Regions from separate parts of the Homo sapiens genome. Here regions 1 and 3 are each linked to region 2. The links are contacts of gene promoters, found by promoter capture Hi-C in blood cells and fetal thymus (Javierre and others, 2016). All regions are on one chromosome and are shown on one strand. The core of a region is centred on a gene start or on the middle of the fragment in contact, and the rest is flanking DNA. Distances in the headings are between cores, read along the strand shown.

Region 1 (3,873 bases), core at 318-2,817, 200 kb after region 2:
GTTTCTTTATTGTTAAAATGGGGCTGATAATACCACCTATCTCATCAAGTGACTGGGAAGATTAAATTTCTATAAATTGCTCAGAACAGTGCCTGGCACATAGTAAGCCTAGGCAAGTATTAGCTATTATTAGTGAAATTGCTTAGACATCTGTGACATCTAGGCCATTCATTCATTCATACTTTTTTTTTTTTGAGATGCAGTCTCACTCTGTCGCCTAGGCTAGAGTGCAATGGCCCAATCTCAGCTCACGGCAAACTCCACCTCCGGGATTCAAGTGATTCTCCCACCTCAGCCTCCCGAGTAGCTGGGATTACAGGCACCCACCATCATGCCCAGCTAATTTTTATATTTTTGTAGAGACGGGGTTTTACCATGTTGACCAGGCTGGTCTCGAACTCCTGACCTCTGGTGATCCATCCACCTCGGCCTCCCAAAGTGCTGGGATTACAGGCGTGAGCCACCGCGCCCAGCCCATTCATACTTTCCTCAAAGAATAAATATTAATATTTACATTATGCCAGGCAATGTGCTGGATAATAGAGATTCAAAGATGAAGAGAATATAGTCCCTGCTGTCCAAAAGTTTATACCCTAGTAGCAAAGACAAACATGAAAGCAATATAATAACATTAACAAATAAATGTTTGTGGCTGAATAAATTAACTAAAGTTACTTCATAGAGGTTTAGACAAAGTAGTATAGAACTGCAGAAAACAAAATGTTTAATTCTATGACAAGGAATCCCAGAGAGGGCTTTCTAGAAAATGTGACTTTCAATTTGGATAATGAAGGATAAAAAGTAACTCATCAGATAGATAAGGAGGGTGAGTGCATTCAAAGTAGAAGAAAAATTGTGATAAAGATCCCAGACCAGGGCACAGTGGCTCATGCCTATAATCCTAATGCTTTGTAATGAGTTTGAGGTTACTTGGAGCTATGATTGCACCACTGCACTCCAGCCTGGACAACAGAGTGAAATCAATCAATCAATCAGCCCTGTCTTTAAACCATAAAATTAAGAGTCTCAATACTCTCTTCTATAGATAAGCACTTAGAGAAAACTAAACACAGAAATTTCTATGATCTTCTACCACTTTATATGTATCTCTAACTCACGACTAAAACAAAATAGACTCCAGTTTTCTGTACATGCCATTCTCCAATGTTTATACATTGACCTGTTCTTCTATTTTATGTATAATTGCAGGTGTTCATTTCCCAGACAGAAATGGGGTACACTGTTTTCTGGAAAAGTAGTTGCTATATTTGATCTGAAAGGTTTTTGAAGTAGTAAAAGAAATATGAAATATTTTAAATTCTTTATAAGGAAAAGCAGTGTATCAACCTAGCTTATAGTCATAATTTAATCTGAGTTTGTTATCAATAATATAAACAACTCCAAGCCAAATAACTAAATAACTCTGTATATTATAATAAATAACTCTAAAGAACTTTTAAGATGATCTTCATGATCACTGTTTATACTATGAACAGATATGATACATACCTGTGTCTGAAGGACGTAAAAAATCTGTGTCACAGGTGAAAAAGGTCTGATGGTCCTGAGCTGACAGGTTCATGTCATAGTATGTAAGTGGCTCTTTACCAGTCACCCAAGTGTATCTTTACCAAAACACAACAAAATATTTAAATTGAACATGAGAGAGCATCTATCTGCTATAACAGACACTACTTAAATTCAAAAATGTACTGCTACACATTTGGATGTTTTAAAATCTTACAATCAGTAAAACAAAAGATAACCTCACAAACTACTTAAAGTATGATAATAAAACATCAAAGACCAAATAGAAAAATAATATTCAATAAACAACTGCTTCTGAAAATTGAATTGGGCCGGGTGCCGTGGCTCATGCCTGTAATCTCAGCACTTTGGGAGGCTGAGGCTGGTGAATGACTTGAGACCTGCAGTTTGAGACCAGCCTGGGCAACATAGTGAGCCAGTGAGCCCTGTCTTTACCAGAAAAAAAAAAAAAAAAATTCAGCCAGGTGCAGTGGCTTGCACCCGTAATCCCAGCTACTGGGGAGGCTGAAGCTGAAGGATCACTTGAGCCCAAGAGCTCAAGACTAGCTTGAGCAATATAGCGAGATCTTATCTCTATTTTTTAACTAAAAAAAAAAAAGACTCAGTAAAACGAAAATTAAGGATTGGGAATTGAGACACAAAATGAAGCCTGGAATGGAGCTAACATATGAAATGTATACCCAAAAGTTATACTTTAACATTAAGAGAAAATAATCATTCAAAAGAAGCATAAGGATTCCTGATACTAATAAATTTATCCTAGGCCAGGCACAGTGGCTCACGCACGCCTTAATCCTTGGCACTTTGGGAGGCTGAGGCAGGAGGATCACTTGGGGTTTGAGGAGTTTGAGACCAGCCTGGCCAATATAGTAAAACCCTGTCTCTCCTAAAAATACAAAAATTAGCCGCATGTGGTAGCGGCCGCCTGTGATCCCAGCTACTTGGGAGGCTGAGGCAGAAGAATCACTTGAACCCAGGAGGAGGAGATTGCAGTGAACCAAGATCATACAACTGCACTCCAGCCTGGATGACAGAGAGAGACTCAGCCTCAAAAAAAAAAAAAAATATATATATATATATATATATATATATATATATATATGTGGATGTGTGTGTATACACACACACACACACACACACACACACACACACTTCTTTTCAAGATCTTCAGGAAATGGATACTGCATAATACAACAAATAGCCTCAAACTTTGATTAAACACAGTAAGAGATACAAGGACCTGTTTCTTACAGGTATCCCTTAACACAGGCTAATGGCATCTTTCATAAAAGCCTGGCTTTCACTTCACAGAATGTCACTATCTTACACTATCATGTCTTTAAGCATAGGAGTTATTGCTTAGTCATTTTTGTATCTCCATCATTTTGCACAGTGCCTGTACATGGTACAAACATAATGTTTCTTATTCAATAAGTTAAATAACATGCCCCATTCTACTTCTGGGTAAAACGCAGCACTCCTCAAAATAAAAGTAAAGTATCTTTGCTCATAAGTTTCAAAAGATGTTTTCTCATTTAGAGTTAAAAACCAGAAGAGAAATGGACACAGTAGTGAAAATAGGAAGCGGCAATATGAAGTCAATATATAGTCCCTCTACTGTTGCACAATTTACATTCAGAGTGATATTTTCTAATGCATCCTCAAATTTTGAAATTTAGCACTCATGCACAGGAATATGCTGACACTGGTAATTTTTTCTTAATGTCACAAATTCTTTGAAAAAGGCTTTTTATAAACCAGGGGCCTAATACATACTTAAATGTATACAATGTATACTTATACGTATCACAAATACTTATATGTATTATAAACCAGGGGCCTAATATATACTTATACGTATCACAAACATATAGTTTGATGTAATGTTTCTTATGATTATCAAATTAAACACAGGCTATGTGTGGTGGCTCATGCTTGTAATTCCAGTGATTTGGAAGGCCAAGGCAGGAGTATTACTTGGGCCCAGAAGTTTGGGACCAACCTTGGCAACATAGCAAGACCCCTGTCTACCAAAAATTTTTTTTTTTGAGATGGAGTTTTGCTCTTGTCGCCTGGGCTGGAGTGCAATGGCGTCATCTCAGCTCACTGCAACCGTTGCCTCCTGGGTTCAAGTGATTCTCCTGCCTCAGCCTCCCAAGTAGCTGGGATTACAGGTGTCTTCCTCCACGTCCAGCTAATTTTTGTTTTAGTAGAGACGGGGTTTCACCATGTTGGCCAGGCTGGTCTTGAACTCCTGACTTCAAGTGATCCGCCCACCTTGGCCTCCCAAAGTGCTGGGATTACAGGCATGAGCCACTGCACCTG
Region 2 (3,921 bases), core at 135-2,634:
CTAGCTCTATGACTTTATTTGACTTCTCTGAATCTCTATCTTCTCATCTGTAAATTGGACACAATGATGTCTATCCTACACTGTAGGATAGATTTCTCATACAGCACTGAAAATGACATCAAATACCATTAAATGAAAGTACATGGCACAGTGATAACATGATAAATACTTGTTTACTTCTTTCAGACTATAATCGCACAAACTGATCACATCCCTCAGTCAGACTGTAAACTGCATGAGGCAGGCTGCATCTGCCTTGGGGACTGTCTGCCTAGGCAAGCACTAGGTCCCTAATGCTGTCTTGCGAATTATAATTGCTAAGTTTAGGGATAATGTATTAAGTGTACTACATTATTTATGCATTATGAATATTCGTCTCAAATATTTATTATATTGTATTTTAAATAATGTGGTTATTGTAAATGTAACCAGCTGCATCAATCTGTGAGCTGACAGCCATTCTGTGGAAAAGGAATTCAGAAACTTTGACCTTAGGTAGGGATACAACTAGTTATACATCCACTCCCCTCTCTGAGTTATTTGGTCCTGCCTAAGACTTGCTGCCACCAAGATCTGCATTCCTGTGTTCACAAGGCAGACATTCCTTGCATCCTCTGTACTCTCCATTGTTTCAACTTCACTGCAAACACCATTCCCCACAATATAATGAGGCCAAGGAAAGAAAAAAGTCGCCTCAGCTGGCAAGCATAGGGTGGAAAAACCTGCCACACAAATTTGCAATTATTTGACTTCCGCCTGGAAGGCAGGTCGGCTGGGTTTATGTCCCCCAAAGTTAGTATCCTCTTCTGTACAAAATGTGGTTGAGAGAAGGGTGATCTCCAGGTGTTTCATCTTTGCACCCTTGCTTCCAGCACCACGCCCACAGGCGCTTCCAGAAAAAAGAAAAAAAAAAAGGGAGCAAGGAAGCCAGGTTTTTCAACAACGAATTCATTCTAATGCAGACACCAAAGCCCACTTCATTTATTAACATTCTGGATAAAATCCCAATCGATTAGGCCACCAGAGCCCTCCATTCCTAAACTCCGCGTACAGTCAGGTAAAAGCACGAAGCACTAGTCACGGTCCTGCCCAGACTTTTCACGCAGAGGTGGAAAGTTGCAGACCCCGAGCCGGGAGGGGCGCGAGCCCACCCTGAAGCCCAGGACCCAGGAGGGCGCTTCCTCCCGGAAGTGACGCGAGCTCAATCCCGGCCTTGCTCTTCCCAAACAAAAGGGATCTTGGGGCCCCGGGAGGAGCCTGAATGACTTTGGAGAAGCCCCGCCTCCAGCCGGCGCGGATTGGGGCCGAGGCTGGAGAAGCAAGGAGGCGATTGGCGCTGGTGAATGCCAATGCCCCCGCCGGGCGGCTGAGGGGGCGGAGCCTCAGCCGCTGTGGATGGGGAGTGGAGGCGGAGGGGAGCGGAGCCCGGAGCGTCGTGGAAAGGTAGGAGCAACTATCCCTGGGGCTTGGTGATGGCTGGGAGGCCGGGTTCTCAAGAGCAAAGCAAGGATAGGGGCACCGGTAGCCTCCCGCCGCCGTCTCAACGGCCTCTGGGCCCATCCCCTGAGGGGGCGGGGCCGTCTCCTCCACCTCCCGGTATTCCCCGAGGAGGCGGCTCCTCATCCTCCGAGGGTCCTCACAGCTACTTTTTGTCCCTCGTCGATTCCCAGCTCCTCAGAAGGGGCTTCCCTCTGACACCCCTCATTCAAAGGCACCTCCCACCCCGCACCTCAGCCTTGGCGGAGAGGACTCACAGGTACCGATTCTCTAGGCTGCCGCCCCCAACCCCATTTCGTACCCCCGGAAGGCCAAACATCCCTCCCTACACCTGTCCCTGCTCGCCAGGGTGGGACTGGAGCTGCTTTCCTCCGTAAGATAAAATTGGTGTTTCCCAAAAAGGAGGGATGGGGCGAAGCAAAAATCAAAGACCGACCTAGACAGCCAGCTTTACGGAGGAAGCGGCTTCTCCCACTTAAGTTCTTCCCATCCCCCATTCTCTGATGCTCAGTCTTCCTCCCGCAGCCCCTCGCATCCTCTGGCCTCTTGTGAGGAGTCGAGAGCTCTCCTGTTTTGGGACTGTTTTGGACTGTGAAAGAGGGAGAACTAGGACCTCCTCTCCTTCACCCTTTGTACCTTCCTTCTACTTTCTGTTCCTTCTGGGAGCACCCAGCCTCTAAGGGTTTCTTAGGTTTGAATTGCGTTTCATTTTTCCTTTTCCACCCTATTTCCTCCCTGAGAACTTGATGAAAAGCCATCTTATATTTCACAGTGAGGTGGGTGTGTTGGATATCTGCAGAGCTGGCTTTGTGTGGGCAGGAATGCAGTATATGTTGCTTGACAGTCAATGAATAACACCATGTTTTCAAATGAAACAGTATACATAAGTAAATAAGTAGCAGTGGATTAGGAATGAGTATATCCCAGTCTAGGGTGGGCTGGTCCATTGCTCAGGGAGACTGCAGTTAACCTTGAAGGTATACTGCAGGTTGAAACAAAAGACAGGAAGTGTTTGAAGAAAATTCAGGGTCAGTCATCTAGGTTTATGATTAATCTAGTCCTATGTCCTTTGGTAACTCTCTAACCCCTTTTTTATAGTGTCCTCCCCGCCCCCAGGAAACATTCATGTATATTTTGATTGGTTTTACGATCATCTATCAAAATTTAGAGGATGAAAAGTAAGAACAATTTTTAAATCTCAGAGATAAGAGTAAATAAAGGCAAGGTATTCTAGCTATTCATGTTTACCAAAAAGTGCCTCTTCTAGTGTGCTCCTAAAGGTTTTGTCAAGTGGTCTTCATTTCAGCAGGTGCAAAGTGTTGATTTTGACCTCATGTTAATGTCGTTGAATCCCCAGTAATCATCTATTGCTAGCGCTTTTATATATTAAAATTTACCATGTTTTTAGCATAGTTTCTTTTGCTTCCAATCTCAAGTCTACCTCCCCTCTGTCAGCTATAGCCAAAGCTGATGGCAATAAAATGCAAGGAGTTGGAATCACGGAGGGTGATTGTAATGACTGTTGTCTTTTACCTTCTTGATTAGACTTTCTGAAGGTAGACTTCCTAAAGATAATTACTTTTGAATAGTTAGGTTTGAAGTTTTCAGAGCCACTCGGTGCTCACAGGTCTTCTCAGTGATTGTTTCCAAATCTCCAGTAAGAAAGTACAAAGAAGAAACTGGAGGGTGTCTCTAGCAAACGCAATGTGTGCTGCAATAGAAGGGTAAGACGTGAGCTCCCAGCAATAACAGCAGAAAAAACTAAAAGCAGAACAGAAAATCCCAAAAAGATAAGTTGTATTATATCAACAGAGAACAGAAAATAAACTAAGGTAAGAGACTAAGCAAACCAAAGTTGTGATTGCCGAGGTTTAATAGGAAAAAGCAAATAATATTCTTTTATTATTTAGCACAGTAAGCAAGATCTGTTTGTTACACTTTTGGGTCTTGAAAATCTTTCCTTTAACCTTTTCAACACCTGTTTGGTCATGCTAGGTGAAGAAAAGCATAGTATGCAGAGGATAGATGTCTGATCTCTCTCCTTGAATTATAAATTCTTTGAGGGCAGATAGTAGTATTTTTTGTTTTTCATCTTTATATCTTTCACAGTTCCTAGTATATAGTATGACTTCATGAGTGTTTGTTTAACTTAGTTTGAGGCTGTCACCTTAGGGTAGACTGAAAGGCAATGTACTGATTAGATTTGGCACAATTTGTTAGTATAAACGGCCTACTTGTTGTCTTCATTTAACTTGATTTTCCCCATCTTCTGTCTTATGAAATTCCAGTGTCTTAAGTGACTAAAATTTTGAATTTCTTATAAAGAAATATCTGTGAGGCAGGGTGTGGTGGCTCATCCCTGTAATCCTTGCTACTTGGGAGGCTGAGGCAGGAGGCTTGCTTGAGCCCAGGTGTTTGAGGTTA
Region 3 (4,126 bases), core at 502-3,001, 150 kb after region 2:
GAACTAATGATTTCATTTAAATGAAAAAAATCAAAGGGTTTGTTTACAAAATAGGGTATTTTTAAAAATACCAAAGATAGTAACAAATGCTGTTTATCACCAAAAGTGATCTATAAGAGCAAACTTTATAATGTTATATTGTTACAATCTTATATTGTATTCTTTAAACTTTTAAGCAACAGAAGTAGCTCAAATCACCAAAAATTTATGTTTGATGTATTTATGGCAGCAACTATATACAAATCAATTCCTTTAATTTACAACAAATATCTTCCATTGTTCAGCTGGGTTAGCACAGGCAGATCAGAGATGGTTTCTTGTGTGTTTTACAAATAATCTACACAAGTCCTTGAGATCATACTTACAGCTTTAGCAAAAATACCCATGATTTCAGGAAACTGGTGAGTGAGAATGGCTATCATTGCTGTAGAAGAGCAAAATCCTGCTGTGAAATGGATGAACAAAGGAAGCTCCTTTTTTGGGTAAACAGAAACATGATGAAAGGCTGCAATGGAGAATAGGTAAGAATCAATTTTATTTCAGAATAACATGTAAACAAGTCTTAATCTTTTCAAATGAAATCTGTTTTTAAAAATTAAAAAGAAAAAAAATTTAAAAAGGAAAGTCTCTGGCTAAGCAAGGTAGAAGACAGTTATCCATTATTTATCCCAGCATCAACAGCATATCTAAATAGCCAGACAACTGTGCTGGGTGTGGGAACAGGATGGCGTCATGGGAAAGAATATTGATTACAAAATCATGCTGAGGTGATTTTGAAAAAAAGCTTTGTCACTTATTAGCTATGTGATCTTGAATAAGTTGCTAAACCCTCTAGAAGTTGCTATGGAGAGTTGTAATGATGAACATTTTAAGTGCTTAATGTGAGTTGCAGCCACAGGTGGTGGTTCACGTCTGTAATCCCAGCGCTTTGGGGGGCCAAAGAGGAGGATCGCTTAAAGCCAGGCATGCGACACTAACCTAAGCAAAATCGTGCTTAAAAATTTTTAAAAATTTTAAAAATTAGCCCAGCATGGTGGTGTGTGCCTGTAGGTCCAGCTACTCTGGAGGATGAGATGGGAAAATCACTGGAACCCAGGAGTTTGAGGCTGCAGTGAGCTATGATCATTCCACTGCACTCCAGCCTGGGTGACAGACCTGTCTCTAAATAAATAAATAAATAAATAAATAAATAAATAAATAAATACATTTGAGTTGCTACTTTTTTTTTTGAAGAAGAAGAGTCTCGCTCTGTTGCCTAGGCTGGAGTGCAGTGACATGATCTCGGCTCACTGCAACCTCTGCCACCCAGGTTCAAGTGACTCTTGTGCCTTAGCCTCCCAAGTAGCTGGGATTACATGCACAGGCCACTACGCCCAGCTACTTTTTTGTATTTTTAGTAGAGAGGGGTTTTGCCATGTTGGCCAGGCTGGTCTCAAACTCCTGGCCTAAAGTGATCCGTCCACCTCGGCCTCCCAAAGCGCTGGGATTACAGGTATAAGCCACCACACCTGGCATTGAGTTGTTATTAATTATTGTTCTTTGGGAGCTCAAAGACTAGTATGGAGAAAGAGGCAGACATGTCATTGGTGATTTCCTAGGACCATCAGTTAATAATTTTACCCAGTTATTAATGTGTTTATATATGTGGCATTTCATTAGGCACTGTAAAACTAAAGTAGGTAAGACGGGAGCAGTGGCTCACGCCTGTAATCCCAGCACCTTGGGAGGCTAAGTCGGGTGGATCACGAGGTCAGGAGATCGAGACCATCCTGGCCAACATGGTGAAACCCCGTCTCTACTAAAAATATAAAAATTAGGTGGGCGTGGTGACACGCGCCTATAGTCCCAGCTACTCAGGAAGGCTGAGCAGGAAAATCGCTTGAACCCGGGAGGCGGAGGGTGCAGTGAGCTGGGATTGTGCCACTGCACTCCAGCCTGGCAACAGAGCAAGACTCTGTCTCAAAAATAAATATGTAAATTAATTAATAAATAAAGTAGGTAGGCCAGGTGTGGTTGCTCATGTCTGTAATCCCAGCACTTTGGGAGGCCGAGGCAGGTGAATCATTTGAGTTCAGGGGTTTGAGATCAGCTTGGCCAACATAGTGAAACCCCATCTCTACTAAAAATAGAAAGATTAGCCAGGCATGGTGACGTGCACCTATAGTCACAGCTACTTGGGAGGCTGAGGCAGGAGGATCGCTAGAACCTGAGAGGCAGAGGTTGCAGTGAGCCAAGATCATGCCACTGCACTCTAGCCTGGGCAACAGAGTGAGACTCTATCTCAAAAAAAAAAAAAAAAAAAAAAACCTAAACTAGCAAACTGAAGGCCTAGGATTCTGACCATAAATAAAGTCCCTTGTCTTATTTTACCATATTTACATATTTACTCAGCTATTATTTTTCTAGTGATTGGATATTTCGTTATCAATTATACTCAAGTATTTATATTTTATTTGAAATTTGAAAATACTTGAATAACAATACTGAGATGAGCCTATTAGAGTACTTAACATGCAGTAGGTGCTCAATAAATGTCTGCTAAACTGAGAGCTATTCTGGGACTTCATTAGGCCAGGAAGTTGACCGCTTAGGGCTGGATACTAACCCAGGAATTTCTGATGTAATATCCTGCATTAGTAAGGGATGACTAATTTTGTGCTGAACCAAGGTCAGCTATAAATTTCACTTTTAAAACATAATGATTCACAGAGATTACACCTAAGCTTCCTTCAACAGCTATATTTTAATTTTTATTTTACTATATTCAGAAAGTATATACCAAAACACAAACCCATTAAAAATCCAGAAAATGTCCAGAACCTTGAGCCATGATTAAAGTAAAAGCACATCAAAATGGAAGTTTTAAAAGTTAGAAACATTAGAAACTGTAGAGAACATTGTGCTTTCAGCACCCAAAGAACCAGTCAGCAATCCCCTTTGCCCTGTCCCTCAGCCATGAGAGGCCAACTTCTTCTTCTTCCCAACTTCAAATCAAGAGAAACAAACCCTGCTATTCAAGAAGGTGGGAAACACATACAAGACAGCAAAGTTAGTAATATTACCTAACCTATATAGCATTTTATGGTTTATAAAGAACTTTAATTTATATTAGCTCATTTAATTCTTTTCAGTAACCCTAAGAGATAGTAGTATTCTCACTTTATAAGGTAGAAAACTGCATAGCTTTAGTGAGGAAATTTCCTAAAATATGAGATTTTTATACTGTAAGAGAGACCTAATTATTTCTTCCTGGATTGCTTTCTGTAGATTCATTTGTCAGTCAATGTTTGGCTAATACATCAAAATAATGGATGACTATTACAGAAACACTCCCTTGGAACGAAAGTTCAAATTTCATCACTGGCTTGTAGAGAAAAATTTATCAGAAGGCATAAAAGACGACTAAATAGCTATGTGAACTAGGGGAATAGTTCAACTCTGAACTTATGAGGTCCATAAGCAAATTCCAGAATGCGGTAAGTCATATCAAAGTTGAAGGAAAATTAAAAACAAAAAACATTAAGTACTCCTGGGTATTAAAACTCCTTATTGTTAACAATTTGTTCATTCTTCCACAGTCAGAGACAGAAAAAAATACTCTAAGAACATAAAATATAATCAAACAAAACCCCCCAGCATATTCCCCCTCTCCTACCTTCTGGAGTTTGCACCAAGTTAGAATAAAGGCTTGCCAAGAATAAACTGTCTGGTCTTATAGCTTACAGCTTTGACAACATAATAACCCTGATTTTATTCATATTACTATGTAAAATTGGCCTTATATTAGACAACCTTTGCAATAATTTACAAAGGAGGGCATTATTTTAGGCTAAATGTATTAGCTTAATATAATATACTCTTGCATATTGATGTTCCATAATTTAAGGTCCATTCTTTTGCCTTAAATATATTTGTTCCTGTTAAAATGGAAAGACAACAAGAACTACCACCACCACCTCTTTAGAAAGGAAAATAAAATTTCTCTCATTAATGACATCTTAATTGCTAAAGTCAATGGATTCTTCTTAGTATTTACCTTACCTATTATCTTGGATATTACTCCTCACTTGGAAATTTCTTCTTCCTTTTAGTTCTAGCATATTTAGTTTTAGTTCTTGTCCTGTCT

What was found. Contacts are between HindIII fragments. The CHiCAGO score rates a contact against its expected background, and 5 or more counts as called.
Region 1: a fragment that was not itself captured here is called in contact with the fragment with the promoter of CTTNBP2NL in region 2 in 1 of 17 cell types (M2 macrophages); the score reaches 5.3 in M2 macrophages.
Region 3: a contact is called between a fragment that was not itself captured here and the fragment with the promoter of CTTNBP2NL in region 2, in 1 of 17 cell types (endothelial precursors). The highest score is 5.3, in endothelial precursors.

What each region holds. Positions count from the first base shown.
Region 1 is chr1:112,596,462-112,600,334 of GRCh38, forward strand. It overlaps ST7L (suppression of tumorigenicity 7 like), which reads right to left. Exons shown (of 15, transcript NM_017744.5): 5 at 1,510-1,625. Among named protein-coding and RNA genes, the nearest start is that of ST7L, 21 kb to the right of the region's middle. The HindIII fragment of the contact is 7,279 bases long and covers 1-3,873 here.
Region 2 is chr1:112,394,830-112,398,750 of GRCh38, forward strand. It overlaps CTTNBP2NL (CTTNBP2 N-terminal like), which reads left to right and starts at 1,385. Exons shown (of 6, transcript NM_018704.3): 1 at 1,385-1,443. RefSeq lists a silencer at 1,583-1,632. The HindIII fragment of the contact is 10,453 bases long and covers 1-3,921 here.
Region 3 is chr1:112,541,586-112,545,711 of GRCh38, forward strand. ST7L (suppression of tumorigenicity 7 like) reads right to left here. Exons shown (of 15, transcript NM_017744.5): 14 at 366-505. Among named protein-coding and RNA genes, the nearest start is that of WNT2B, 35 kb to the left of the region's middle. The HindIII fragment of the contact is 1,939 bases long and covers 783-2,721 here.